5 separate regions of the Homo sapiens genome follow, and regions 1, 2, 4 and 5 are each linked to region 3. Evidence: promoter capture Hi-C in human tissues and cell types (Jung and others, 2019). All regions are on one chromosome and are shown on one strand. Each heading gives the region's core, a stretch centred on a gene start or on the middle of the fragment in contact. The rest is flanking DNA. Distances are from core to core; before and after follow the strand shown.

Evidence for each region. Contacts are between HindIII fragments. The study calls those that stand out against the background at their distance.
Region 1: a contact is called between a fragment that was not itself captured here and the fragment with the promoter of GGACT in region 3, in 1 of the 25 tissues and cell types used here (mesendoderm cells).
Region 2: a contact is called between a fragment that was not itself captured here and the fragment with the promoter of GGACT in region 3, in 3 of the 25 tissues and cell types used here (dorsolateral prefrontal cortex, lymphoblastoid cells and mesendoderm cells).
Region 4: a contact is called between a fragment that was not itself captured here and the fragment with the promoter of GGACT in region 3, in 1 of the 25 tissues and cell types used here (dorsolateral prefrontal cortex).
Region 5: a fragment that was not itself captured here is called in contact with the fragment with the promoter of GGACT in region 3 in 3 of the 25 tissues and cell types used here (IMR-90 fibroblasts, lymphoblastoid cells and mesenchymal stem cells).

Annotation. Positions count from the first base shown.
Region 1 is chr13:99,996,289-99,998,988 of GRCh38, reverse strand. LINC00554 (long intergenic non-protein coding RNA 554) reads left to right here and starts at 1,080. Exons shown (of 1, transcript NR_047483.1): 1 at 1,080-2,700. RefSeq lists an enhancer at 524-1,469. The HindIII fragment of the contact is 3,433 bases long and covers 1-2,700 here.
Region 2 is chr13:99,876,890-99,879,776 of GRCh38, reverse strand. The region is part of intron 7 of CLYBL (citramalyl-CoA lyase); the gene reads right to left. The region is part of intron 1 of CLYBL-AS3 (CLYBL antisense RNA 3); the gene reads left to right. Among named protein-coding and RNA genes, the nearest start is that of CLYBL-AS3, 79 kb to the left of the region's middle. The HindIII fragment of the contact is 6,924 bases long and covers 1-2,887 here.
Region 3 is chr13:100,587,429-100,590,245 of GRCh38, reverse strand. GGACT (gamma-glutamylamine cyclotransferase) reads left to right here and starts at 1,457. Exons shown (of 3, transcript NM_001195087.2): 1 at 1,457-1,505. RefSeq lists a silencer at 1,305-1,824. The HindIII fragment of the contact is 6,002 bases long and covers 1-2,817 here.
Region 4 is chr13:99,916,192-99,918,997 of GRCh38, reverse strand. All of the region lies in intron 1 of CLYBL-AS3 (CLYBL antisense RNA 3), which reads left to right. Among named protein-coding and RNA genes, the nearest start is that of CLYBL-AS3, 40 kb to the left of the region's middle. The HindIII fragment of the contact is 5,590 bases long and covers 1-2,806 here.
Region 5 is chr13:101,133,253-101,136,016 of GRCh38, reverse strand. All of the region lies in intron 17 of NALCN (sodium leak channel, non-selective), which reads left to right. Among named protein-coding and RNA genes, the nearest start is that of LINC00411, 190 kb to the right of the region's middle. The HindIII fragment of the contact is 3,783 bases long and covers 1-2,764 here.

The DNA of each region.
Region 1 (2,700 bases), core at 137-2,636, 590 kb after region 3:
ATGGAGAAAGGATAGGAGGCTGAAAGGAAAAGACAGAAAAACAACTCCAGGGCTGGGCACGGTGGCTCACGCCAGTAATCCCAGCATTTTGGGAGGCTGAGGCAGGTGGATCACCTGAGGTGAGGAGTTCTAGACCAGCCTGGCCAACATGGTGAAACCGTCTCTCTTCTAAAAATACAAAAGTTAGCCAGGTGTGGTGTCGGGTGCCTGTAGTTCCAACAACTCGGGAGGCTGAGGCAGGAGAATCATTTAAACCAGGGAGGCAGAGGTTGCGGTGAGCCGAGATTGAGCCACTATATACACTCCAGTCTGGGCGACAGAGTGAGACCTCCGTCTCAAAAAATAAAAATAAAAAATAAGAAAAGGAACTCCAAAATACTGAGTTGAGTATAGACGCTCTAGTATAGAAACTGCAGACCACTGGACCGTCTCTCACGAACTGGTCAAACTCCTCCTGGGCTTTCCTAGACAGGGGTGGGGACAGACTCACAGGGCTGAGCTGAGGACAGAGCCCCACCAGGCGCTGTCAGGGCGGTTTCCCGACCACACGTCCCTGTCCAAAAACAACCGCACAGCAAATGTGGCTATGCCAAGTCCTTCAGGTATCAGTTAAATCTCCTCCTCTTCTGTATGAATTTGTATTATTTATAAGACACTTGACACACGTTTAAACACTTACATTACTCCTGCGACTCAGGAAATAGAGCTTGTTCAGCTGAGGGAAAAAAAGCATGTAATGAGGGAGTTAACAAGGACTGATATTTTTTTACAACATTCTTTAAAAACTGAAAAACCTCTTTAAACACCAGGAACAGCTTAAATAATTCACTGTAGGCCTAAGGGGCCCCTGTGGACGTTTCCCCCGCGGGTCCCTTTCTGGCCTCGGCCTCCCCGACTGTCATCCGCCAAGGTGGGCCCGGAGGGCGACGGGCTCCAGGCCTCGGTCTCAGCGGTCCTCCGGCTTCCGGGACCCACAGGGGCCCTGGGCTGGGTGGGGGCCAGCCGGACCTGGGGAGGCCGGACCCCGGAAGTGGGTAGAGGCGGGCCGTGCCTTTTGACCCCTGGGTGCGCGGAAAGTCGGTAGCAGGCGGAAGTGCGGCCCTCGAGGCGGTCGCGGCCTGTCGGGGCTTGGAGCGAATGGCTCCAAGGCCGCAGGCTGGGCCTGGGCCGCAGCCGTGGGAAGCCGACGATGCCTGAGGCGCTCTGTCCTCGGCCCACCCTAGGAACTTGTATGACCGCAGGAAAGGATCAGGAGAGGCCGCTGCCCGTCTCCCACCGGCTCTAGGCTCCCTCGGCCGACCGATGTGGGGAAGGGGAAGGGGCCCGCGCCGAGGCTCTAGGGGAGGCTCCTAGGCCGGGTTCTCTGACTTAAGGCCCTCTTGGCTGTGGTTTTGCGGGAGTGAGTTGAGGGAGCTGCATTCACTCAAGTCCCTCACATGCCCGAGGGCCCGGGAATCGTGAAGCCGGGCCTGCGGACCCGGTGGGAGGAAGGAGTGCGAAGCGCGGCCGCCGTGCTCGGCCGGCGCCGGGCTAGGTCGGGCGGTGGGGACCGCGCCGGCATAGGACAACGCGGTGGAGGGAAGCACCTGCCCCCGCCCACCTTGACTCAGGGCCGCCGCGCCCCTCCTGGGCCATCCGCGCGGGGGTCTCAGGATGGCGAAACCCGGGACCTCGCGGCCCTCTAGTGCTCCCCTGCCAGGGTGCGACCTAGGTACCCTTTATCGAGCCCCACTCCCCAAGGCAGAGAGAGTTCGACGTTCCCAAGGAGGGAGTCTCCATGGAGGAATTCGTCCTGCTTCACTTCCAGAGTTGAAAGCCCGTCGGTTCTGCAAAGAGGAGCAGTCGGGCGCGGGCTAGCAAGCAGCTGATGAAAATAATTGTCCTCGCACACACAGCCCTGCGCCCAGGGGCGCGCGCGCGCACACACACACACACACACACACACACACACACACACACAACTTGCCTCCTCTAGCCGCCCAACCTTAATATTCCGGGCATGCAGTTTTCAACAACTTGCCTGACACAATAACAAAGACATTTAAATGCCAGGACGCAGACTTCACTTTTTAACCTGCTGAGAGGAGCTACTTTCAAAGCTTCCCCACCGCGAATAAACTGACAAAAAATATGGGGTGCACTTATAAATTAAACACCTTACCCTCAAAGCAATATACGTTAATCAGGTTTCTAAGGCAATAGCCATCTCTGTCTTTTCCTATTCACCCAAATAATGCCCCCAGAAGGAACCCCTTTACACAAGAGAGAACTGGAAAAAAAATGAATTATACCCATTGCTAGTAAAAAATCATCTTAAATCAATAGAGCACCACTTGAACTTGAGTTTCTATTGTTTCACTGAATCATCAATGTTTTTAATTAAACAGAGCTACCCTTTCTGTTAAAACATTACATAAAAGGGTTAGGTTTCTACTTTTGTTGAGGCAGCTGGCGTTTGTTGGCTGTTGTGTTTGAGCAACAGACTGTTCAATGGAAGCGAGAAATAGCTCAACGCGCTCTTAATAGACCTGTTTCAACAATGTATCTTGAAAAGGAATACATTGTGTTATTGTGTTAGTTTGCTACAAACCTATTAAAAGAAAAATAGCATCCATCAGGTCTAACAAGACGCATTTGTATTATACGTACTTATCTGCTTCAAATACACTTCTTGGCACAATGTCTAGAATTCAACTAGAT
Region 2 (2,887 bases), core at 9-2,508, 710 kb after region 3:
TTGAATTCTAAGTGGGTTTTATGATTTCAGAGTAGTTTTAAGACCTGCAAGAGTTTGAGAAACATCAGTGTTTTTGAAAATACAATGAATAGAAACAGGCTCATGCCTGAAGCTTCCTGTCCCCTCTAAACTCTTATAAATCATAGATTTAGTTGTCTCCTTAAGAAACTAGACTCAGGGATGCTATATATTTGGCAGCGCCTCAGGAGGAAAACAAATAAATTTAGAAAAATTAAAAAACTTAGAATATCAGCAGAGGACAGACGCTAATCAAATGCAGATGATCTGAAGTCCAGAGCTTGGCTTACACGGAGGAGGAGGTACTGAAACGCAGGACACCGTTCTTTCAGCAGATGATGGACCAGAAAAGGAAGAGGTGTAGCAAAGATGATAGCTAGACACATTTGTTCAAAAGGGAGGACATTTCTTGGAATGTGGAAATTGAGTGGATGTAAAATGAATAGACAGCGTTAACATTCTGCTTTTTACAAAGGCAGGATGAAATTATTTAGCTTTAGCTAAATAAATGGAAAGATGGGGCTAGAAAATAGAAAGATTTGTGTGTTGTTCTTGGCAAGACTAATTCAGGACTTTACCAAGAGTTCCAGGAAGTCGGGGGTGCAATGGGGAAGGAGAAGCAGTAGAAGGCTTGGAAGATGGATTTGGCAGGAGCAGGGCAGGAAAGGTCGAGGCGGCTGAACAACAGGGAGGAGAGCTGAGGTGCATGTGTGTGCCAGTTATCTGCATATGTGACCATCCCGAATCATCTACTTGCCCAGGTCTGGGTCTCCACGGACCAGAGCCATGCTTACTTTAAACGCTGATCCGAGAGACCAAGGTAGCCTTCTATTTTTAAAACTTTCCTCGGGGTCTAAACATGTAGATGGCAAGATTTCTCTTTAAAAATATTCAGGCAGAATAATCAGGCAAGAGTAGGCAAGTCTTTGTTTTCGATATCTTTTCACAAGGAAATCTGGAAAAATAAAGCCAAGTATGCTATGTAGAAAGCTATGTATTGAGGTGAAGACAATTGGATTTACAAGTGTATCAAAATCTAAGGGAGTTAACACATTTGCCATCAAATTAGGTTTTGTGCTTAATTTTCTCAATTTTTAAAGTGGCTTTATTGAGGTACGATTTGCATACCATAAAATCCACCCATTGTACGTGCATAAGTCATTGATTTTTTAGTAATTATGTAGAGTTCCGCTACTATCACCTCCATCTCAGATTTCTTTTTGAAACCAGAAATCTTCTTTAAAGATTTTTAAAAATTATTTTTAAAACCAAGACAAATGTGTAACATGCCAAATGTTTAAATGTCTTTATTTAAAAATGTTTGACATCAAATTTAAGCTCCTATTGCCTATGAGAAAAGCAAACAATGAATGCCATTTATAGCAGTTTGTAGCTAAGACCAATAATGCAGGCTTATTCTTTCTTTGGAAAACAGATTTAATGAGTTAACATTAACTAGAAGAGACTGAAAGATTTACTAAAATACTGGTACATTTTTTCAAAGCACAATTGATGAATAACAACTGATGAAATAATTGATGGAAACATCTTCTTTCAATTTTTCTAGAAGGCAGCAGAAGTATGTCATATATACTGTTAAAAGTACATCTAATAAATTTTTTTTTAGCATTGTCAGGAATTTGGAAACCAGTTAGCTAAATAATGTTTACTAAATGTGTTTCGTGTACCTATTTCTGCCCAAGATGCTGCAGGGAGGTGCGTGCTACGGTAGAGAGAATTCTTTATTCCCTAAGGTAGTGGTAAGAAATTGCCTCACTTTTTTTTTGAGGCCCACTGACCTAAAGTGGGGGAAAAAAAAGACAATTATAGAAATGGTTGCTTTGTATTTTTAATAAAATTCAGTATAAAAAGAACTACAAAATTCTGGGCTGGGCGCGGTGGCTTACGCCTGTAATCCCAGCACTTTGGGAGGCGGAGGTGGGCAGATCATGAGGTCAGGAGTTTGAGACCAGCCTGACCAAAATGGTGAAACACCGTCTCTACTAAAAATACAAAAATTAGCCAGGCATGTTGTGCGCCTGTAATCCTAGCTACTCAGGAGGCTGAGGCAGGAGAATCACTTGAACCCGGGAGGCGGAGGTTGCAGGGAGCCGAGATCACGCCATTGCACTCCAGCCTGGCTGGCAGAGCAAGACACTGTCTTAAAAAAAAAAAAAAAAAAAAAAAGAATTACAAAATTCTTTAATTAATACAACCAAAAAATAAATAAATAAAAGAATGCTCTGAAAGTCTCTAATGTAATTAGCTACAGGAAAGAAGGTGAGGGATGGCCTGGGGTGTGGAGATGATGTAGTGAGAAAGAAAAAGATGTAAAGAAAAAGAGGAAATGGAGAATTCAGGGCAAGGAAAATGAGGGTGGAACAGAAAGATACACACACAGACCCATCCATCCTTAGAGGGAGAAATACAGGAAGAGGAAAGAGAGGGAAAGGTGTCCAAGGAACAAAATGATCCTCTCCTGGCCATCACTTCGATCTTGCTGCCATAGGCACTGAACACCATGGGGTGTGTGTGGTCACAGGTGTAACTGAGAGTGTGACTCTGGGGACCTGTCCTTTGATGTCCTTGAGATGACACTGGGCTTTGGAGTAAATATGGCCTCTCTGCCAAAGGCTCCCCAGGCTTGCTCTGGGAGTTTCCAATCTATGTTGGGAGACTGAACGACTGATAACTAATGATGTGAAGTGGGGTTTGCAGTGAACAGAGCCTAGAAGGCTTCCTGGGGCAGGGCTGGGGGATGAGGGCAGGGCAGCACTGAGCAGGGAGGCGTGTGGGGAACGGCACGTGGAGACCCTGGTTTCTCTCTTTCCTCATTGGTTTCTGCTTATCCTCAAGAAAAGACATACAT
Region 3 (2,817 bases), core at 208-2,707:
TTGTCTCACTTTCCTTTGCTGACATGATTTTCCCCCCTCAAAAAAGAGATGAAAGTGGAATCATTCTTTCGCTTCAAAAAGTTAAGAATTACTGCTGTCTTTAAAAATATTAATATGAGGCCGGGCGCGGTGGCTCACGCCTGTAATCCCAGCACTTTGGGAGGCCGAGGCAGGCGGATCACGAGGTCAGGAGATCGAGACCATCCTGGCTAAAATGGTGAAACCCCGTCTCTACTAAACATACAAAAAATTAGCCGGGCGTAGTGGCGGGCGCCTGTAGTCCCAGCTACTTGGGAGGCTGAGGCAGGAGAATGGCGTGAACCCGGGAGGCGGAGCTTGCAGTGAACCAGATCCCGCCACTGCACTCCAGCCTAGGCGACAGAGCGAGACTCCGTCTCAAAAAAAAAAAAAAAAAAAAAAAAAATATTAATATGAGCTAGACAAGGTTTTTTAATACATTTCAATTTAATTATGAAGTGTCCAAGACAAGAAAAAACTGTGAAAACCAACGACTTATGTACCTGATGGTTTAGATTTCTTTTGGAATTGTACATCTGTTCAAAATACAATTACATCTGCATTGTTGGAAACGTTTGGATAAAAACCAGTTTATATAAAGGTTTCAATCAGTCCACATCCATGAGAAAGTAGAAAGGGCAGGAAATGATTAAGGGGGATTATTGCTAATCTGATAAACACAGATTTGTGTCTTTCGGAGAGACAGAAGTGTCACTCTCTCCATAGCTGTACCATTCCTACCACCTGGCCCCCAAGTGGCATTGCTTTAACCCATTGTCTCTAGGGAAAATGTTCTCTTTCGATTTTGGTTCTCAGTCCTATAATTTCTGGGGCTTAAATTAGTCCTGGAGCTAGGGAAGAGGTGATGTCATCCTTCCATTGTCTCCTTCGGCCACAGTTTCATTTTAAGAGTATTGGTAAGTAAGTGGGCAGTGTGACTAGATGGCGGTCTGGACTCGGTATCAGGGCTGTGTGCATGCCCAGCTGGGGGGCCTTGGTGGTGTGTGATGTGATAGATACACACATGGTTGGCATCCCCAAGTGTGTCTGCGCTTGGGTTCATTTGTGTGTGCATGTGTGTCCATTTGATGTGGCGTGTCCCCAAGCTTGTGGAGTCGTCTGTGAGTCTGTTTTGTGGGGTGTGGCCCAGGTGTGTCAGGGTCCACCATGCAGTCGGGGCTTGAGCCTGAGTGCCCAGGTGTGTTAGGGTGGATGTGACTTCTGTGGGGCGTCCCCAGGTGTGTGAAGCTGGTTGCGCTGTGTCTGCGGCGGGGCGTCTCCGGCGGGCATCGGCGTGGGTGGGTCTGGCTGTTAGGCGGCCAGTTGTGCGAGCGGCCACGTGTGTGCGAGGGCGCCGCAGGGGCTGGCGGGCCTCGCGTTCCGCCTGCAGGGGGCGCCGCCGGGGGCGGCCTGGGAGCAGAGGCGCGGGCCCGGCCCTGCATTTCCGCCCTGGCCCTGCCCTCCCCGACAGCCCCGGCTGCCGGCAGGTGAGGCGCTGAGCCCGGGCGGGGGTCGGGGCTGCGCCTGCTCCGCCCCCCAGGCGGGGTGTCCTGGCGCCCGCGGGAACCTGGGGCGTCGCTCCCTGCGCGGCGTCCGGGTCGAGGCCGCAGCACTCGGCGTCCCCGCGGGTGAGGGAGGAGGCCTGGGGCGCCGCCGGCCGGCGAGGCCAGCCGGAGGGAGGGGACGGTGGACCCCGAAACGCGTCCTCCATTGCCCCGCGCGGGGGCCACGGGCGCGATTGCCAGAACGGGCAGAGGGCGGTAAAAGCCAGGAACCGCCTCACGCACGGGCGCTGCTTCCCTGTAAAGGAAGCGTGACAGCCCACACGCTGGCTTTCAGAGGACCTCAGCTGAACCGGGCTAACACTTCTCAGAAATTGTTTTTCATTTTAAAGATTTCCTGTTTGTAAGGAGACTAGAAGCTGCAAAAGAAATCTAAAAACGTCTCCTGGCACTTGTGAATTTCTGATCTAAGGTTTCTTTGGAGCCATTAGTGAAACTTCTGAAATTTTGAAGAAATTTACTGCCTTGATTATTAATTATGGTTATCATTGCTGTTTTACTCTGTGGGCCAAGGACAACGCCACAAGCTCAAAAGCAGACTTAAGTGTTTTTTGAACACAGCTTCTTAACTCCACGCTTAGTTGATTTAATATTTAAGTGATAAGAAAATGCAGTCGATTTCTGGCCCTTTTTATTGTTTGGGATGAAGTCTTGCCCTGTTGCCCAGGCTGGAGTGCAGTGGCGCGATCTCGGCTCACTGCAACCTCTGCCTTCCGGGTTCAAGCGATTCTCCTGCCTCAGTCTCCCGGGTAGCTGGGATTACAGGCGCCTGCTATCACGCCCAGCTTATTTTTGTGTTTTTAGTAGAGACAGGGTTTCACCATGTTGGCCAGGCTGGTCTCGAACTCCTGACCCCGTGATCCGCCCGCCTTGGCCTCCCAAAATGTTGGGATTACAGGCATGAGCCACTGCACCCGGGATTTGTGGCCTTTTTTAAAAGCAAGTTATTCGTTTTGCTAAATGTCCCAGGAGAAATGATTAATGAAAAACTAAAGGTGACCTATTTAAAGTGTAGGTCTTACACACACGTAGGTGTCCTTATGTACATTTACCTGTAAGTGAAGACTTTTCCCTGGCCTCATTCAATTTATTGAAATGCTCAGATGAAGAGCACCTGCAGTTTGCCCGTATTTTCCCAAAATGCCTTGTTTTCCTGAAACTATTCCCAGAAGAAGCCAGACTTCCCTGAATAAGCAGACCACTGTGTTCTAGCAGAGATTCGTATTGTAAAAGCTGA
Region 4 (2,806 bases), core at 219-2,718, 670 kb after region 3:
GCATGGCTAATTTTTGTATTTTTAGTAGAGACAGAGTTTTGCCATGTTGGCCAGGCTGGTCTTGAACTCCTGACCTCAGGTGATCTGCCCACCTCTGCCTCCCAAAGTGCTGAGATTACAGGCTTGAGCCACCATGTCCAGCTGGTTTGTCATATTTGTGTTTGAATTTGGCTCTACGTGGATTCTGCGTAAGATTTAAGTGTCTTAGTTGGAAAAAGCCTCTGCATAAATGTGCACTGAGGAATATTTGTAACAAAGCTGGGAGCCAAGTAGGGAACTGGCATAGAGATTCTTCTAGACACATAGGCAAAGGATAGCTACCACAGAAAACGGGCAGATATGTGGGATTAGAGTGAGAGGGGTAATTTAGGCGATGAAATGAGCTGGTCTCTTGTACCACTATATGGCAGGTGAGGCAGATCCCCAAGATGAGGGTAGCGGTGCTTCTAGGAAGGGGAGACCACCACACCCCTGCCCTTTCTTGACAAAGTATACCAAGTGCAGATTACACTAGAGGGAGCCAGGCCGATGCCAAGCTTCCCGCTGGATGATGAAGGCCGTGGAGATGAGGAAGAGACACAGAGAACGAAGATGCCAGAGGGGTTAGAAGTGAGGAGTTTACTGTAGTGGGGCACACAGAGAAAATAATATTTGATGGCAACTGGGCGGCTCTTGGCAAGAGATGACCAGCTTGGAAGTCCCTGCCATTCCTGACCCAAGGGCTGTAGGGATCAGCAGCTCAGGCACACACCTGTAACCCATCCTGCACACTGACTGGGAAGTTCTGGTCTAGTCAACGTCAGAAATACATAGTGAAAAGCCAGGGTCGTGGAGCCCTTTGAGAATCTGATGGAAGTTATGGGCCTTCTCCCCAGAAAGCCCACAAATGTGACACACACATACAATTGTGCTCACTGTTTCAAGGGATTTATGAAAATGCTCATCTACTTCTTTAATTTATTTTTATTTTGAGACAGAGTCTCACTCTGTCACTCAGGCTGGAGTGCAGTGGTGTAATCTTGGCTCACTGCAACCTCCACCTCCCAGGTTCAAGTGATTCTCATGCCTCAGCCTCCCGAGTAGCTAGGATTGCAGGTACACACCTGCAATGCCATCATGCCTGGCTAATTTTTATATTTTTAGTAGAGATGGAGTTTCACCATGTTGACCAGGCTGGTCTTGAACCCCTGGCCTTAAGTGACCTGCCCGCTTCAGCCTCCCAAAGTGCTGGGATTACAGATATGAGCCACTATGCCTGGCCAAAATGCTCATCTAATTTTGGATCTTATGATAAGAACCTTGGTTGGAGATTATTAAAGAAAGGGTGTTGATGAAGAAATGAAGGCCAATTCACTTGAATAAATTCAGCAACTAGGATTTAAAAAGTCCATCTAAAGAAGGAGAGAATCACAGACTCTTAGGGCATTCAAAGGCTCCATAAACCTCTGGCTTTGGAAGTGGTTCAAATGCTAGGGATACCAAGCAGAAAATATCCAGGTCAGGTCATTAGATCCAAACAATCGAGCACATTGCAATGGTTGAGCAGATCGCTCGGCTCCGTGTTGGCTACTTTTTAAAGGTCCTGATGTTAACTTGGTCAGGATAATAATTTGGTAAATAGTCAATGGCACAAGTTTTATTTCTGTATCCCTCCTTCCAAACATTTTTCCCCGGGAGGGACCCTTCTCTAGTTTTCTCGGTATGCATGGCGGAATGGGGAGCGTGTGGTGAGGTGTGCTCTTGCACGGACTTCCAAGATTGACAGTGGCTGCCTGGGTACCTATTGTCTCAAGGACTCTGCCACCCAGTGCATAATCAGTTCTAAGCCACTCATCTTCACTTGCCCATATGCCCCCTGGAAGCACCCGTATTGCTGAAATGACATGTATCGAAAACAACGAGACAGTCAGGGCTCAACGCCTTACCAACTATTTGTGAACCAAAATAATAACCAGATCTCAAAAGACTAAATGGTGGGCGAGGGATGGAGCGTCAGTACTACCTTAGAAAATATGTGACTTGTGTTAGTTGAATCTCAGGTCTGACATCATGTGAAAGTGCTTTCTTTGCAAAATACAGCCTGGGGGGAAATTTTGCCAGTGTCTTGCTCTGGTGAGTTAATATGCATTTAACCAGTTTTATAACAGATTATTTACCAACGGGAACAGAATGCTTTGGCACGGGATGCCTTTGAGAGAGCTATTCTATTGCTCTGGCTAATTCCATATTTCAAAATAATTTCCACATACTCCTGGTGGATGTAGGTTCTCTCAAACTCTTCCCTCTACTGGTGAAATGGGAGAACTGGCAAGTAGGTGAGATTATGTTGCCCTCTGGTGTCTGCCAACCCAAAAGAAAGAACTAGAACTTAGGAAGGCGATGAGATGTAGAAGGAAGGTAGAAGGTGCTCCCCATCGGGAGAAAGATAAAGATGGAGAGGTTGGGGGATGAAGAGGGAGGAAGGGAATGAGCTTGGTGTCCTCTGCCCGTTGGACCTTCTTCTCTTGGGTGAGTGACAGGATTCCAACTACTCTTCCTGTCTGAGGAGGAAAGTGACACCTCCAGGGCTATTTGCCTGATGAGTCTGGGGCCTCTGTGATTTGTGATGGAGAAGTAGGCTCATCGGGGGGGTGGGACCTGGCCATTCTCTGCAGGGAACCGCTGGGGAAATGAGCTGGGTGATGGCCACCCATAGTCCCATCCTTCAGGTTTGGCTGAATAGGAGAATGTCCCTGGGACTGGGAGTGGGAGGGAAATAGCCCTTGTCCTTGGGGGAAACTCTTGGCAGTTATGACATTATTAAAAG
Region 5 (2,764 bases), core at 133-2,632, 550 kb before region 3:
GCTGTTTGTATTCCTTAGTAAATGCGCATTGAGAGTCAAAAGTAAATCAGTCTAGGATTAAGAATTTTTTATAGGTAATTTAAAAGATTTTTAATCGCATTTTCTGTATCATGCACAAAAGAGGTATCAAGGAGTTAAGGCCGCTGCTAAATCTATCTTGGAAATTTACATTTTGCTCTTCTTTTTAAACTTTTTCCTCTTCTGACTACAGTTTTACTTATAAATTGTCTCTTCTATCAAGTGTCATGCTAGTCTCAGTGTGTTGTATTTGTTGCTGATGATGGTGTTGAGTCCAAGTCCTGCTTCCTTGTGTTGCCACAGACCTTAAATTTCGAATTTCTACACCCATAATCCCAGCACTTTGGGAGGCCAAGGCTGGCGGATCACCTGAGCTCAGGAGTTCGAGACCATCCTGGGCAACATGGTGAAACCCCATCTCTACTAAAAAAAAGTAGCTGAGCATGGTGGCACACAACTATAGTCCCAGCTACTCGGGAGGCTGAGGCATGAGAATTGCTTGAGCCCAGGGGGCGGAGGTTGCAGTGAGCCAAGATCATGCCACTGCACTCCAGCTTGGGCGATACAGCGAGACTCCGTCTCAAAACAAAAAAAAATTTTGGAATTTCTAAATTCACAAACAGGTTAAAAGCATCTGACATTTACTCTAGAATCACAAGCCCACTCACCTTCTTTTGTCTCTGCAGATTTCCAATCTTTGCCTTCCTGTTTATATTAGATATAATCATAAAGTCATTTTGTATTTTACTTTTGTAATTAAAATCTATCTAGCGTATATTTATAGTTTTGTTTGTTTGTTTGTTTGAGACGGAGTCTCGCTCTGTCACCCAGCCTGGGGTGCAGCGGCACGATCTCGGCTCACTGCAAGCTCCGCCTCCCGGGTTCACGCCATTCTCCTGCCTCAGCCTCCTGAGTAGCTGGGACTACAGGCGCCCGCAACCACGCCCGGCTAATTTTTTTGTATTTTTAGTAGAGACAGGGTTTCACCGTGTTAGCCAGGATGGTCTCGATTTCCTGACCTCGTGATCCACCCGCCTCGGCCTCCCAAAGTGCTGGGACTACAGGCGTGAGTCTCCGCACCCGGGCATTTATAGTTTCTTATCATTAAGTACTGTATATTAAACCTATCTAAATTTGTTTCAGTACTCGAAGATATTGCTTTTCCCTCGATTTTTGCACAGTTTCATTATTTGATGTGTAAGATGTTGGAGATTTGACCAAGTGACCCCAGGCTACTGTGTTAGTGGCCGAAACATTGTCATAACATTCACGTGCAAAAAAAAATCAGATCCATTAAGTTTTAAATTGTTTAGTTTCTAATATTACAAGCTGTTCCTATATATCAAGTTAGTTGATTCATTTCAAAATAAGCAGTCCCTCTTTGTAATTTTTACGTCATTCATATTTCTTATTTTCAAGGACTAACTACATTAAAATATATAAGATAGAAAAAGTAATACTTTAATATTATGAAATTAATTCAATTTTCAAATATATTTCAAGCACCAACAATGCACAGTGCTAGACAATGAAAGAAAATGTAATAAACAAAGAATACATTATACATATCCTAAGGAGTTTACAATCTATTGGAATTTACAGAAAGATAAAAAGATGTTTCACACAGGGCAGGGATCAACTTGTGCTGGGTGCCTAGGAGTCCAAAGGAAGAGCGAAGATTTGGTGTATGCATGGCATGCACACACGTGCACATGCATGTTTATATGAATATTTTAACTCCTACACATAGTGTTTTTACAGGGTTCAGAACACATGATATTGAAATAAGTTACAATAGGAAATCTTTTTTTTTGTTTGTTTGTTTTTTTGAGACAGAGTCTCGCTCTGTGGCCCATGCTGGAGTGCAGTGGCGCGATCTCAGCTCACTGCAAGCTCTGCCTCCCAGGTTCACGCCATTCTCCTGCCTCAGCCTCCCGAGCAGCTGGGACTACAGGCGCCCGCCACCATGCCCGGCTTATTTTTTCTATTTTTTAGTAGAGACGGGGTTTCACCATGTTAGCCAGGATGGTCTCGATCTCCTGACCTCGTGATCCACCCACCTCGGCCTCCCAAAGTGCTGGGATTACAGGCGTGAGCCACCGCACCTGGCCTACAATAAGAAATCTTGACCCATCATCTAAAATTCTCTTCACAAAATTCACATTTTAAGATACTGTTCAAAGCTTCATAACATGATATTATAATGGTATTCACCTTTATATACATCCATAATCAACATTTTAATCTTGCTGATGCTCACATTAATCACCTTTTAAAATTTTTTTTCTAAGCATAATGTCAATTCCAGAGAAAGTTTATTTTATAGAAACATCTTGCCACACACATGATCTGTCGTATGCACTTTGGGATTAATTATGAATTCACGGGTGCATGAAAATTCAAATACAGTCAAATGAGATACCACCTTCGACCCATGCAATTTTAAGTAATTGCTTATTCCCAATTACTATATTTTATTTGGGAGACTTATTCAATAAAGTGGCTCGTTACAATAATTACACTACAACTTTCTAGCAGAAATGACATTCATCAAGCCATATTCATTGGACCGTGGTTTTGTGTCTTATGGTCATATGTTTTTATAACCACTTTCCCATTTATTATTAACCTGTTAATATTTGTAAAGTGAGAAAAGAAAAATGGAGCCACTCAAACTTTTTCCCAGTTAGAAACAGAAATGTATTGTTAACATTGTAAATCAAAAAAGCTATTGAATATTTATAAT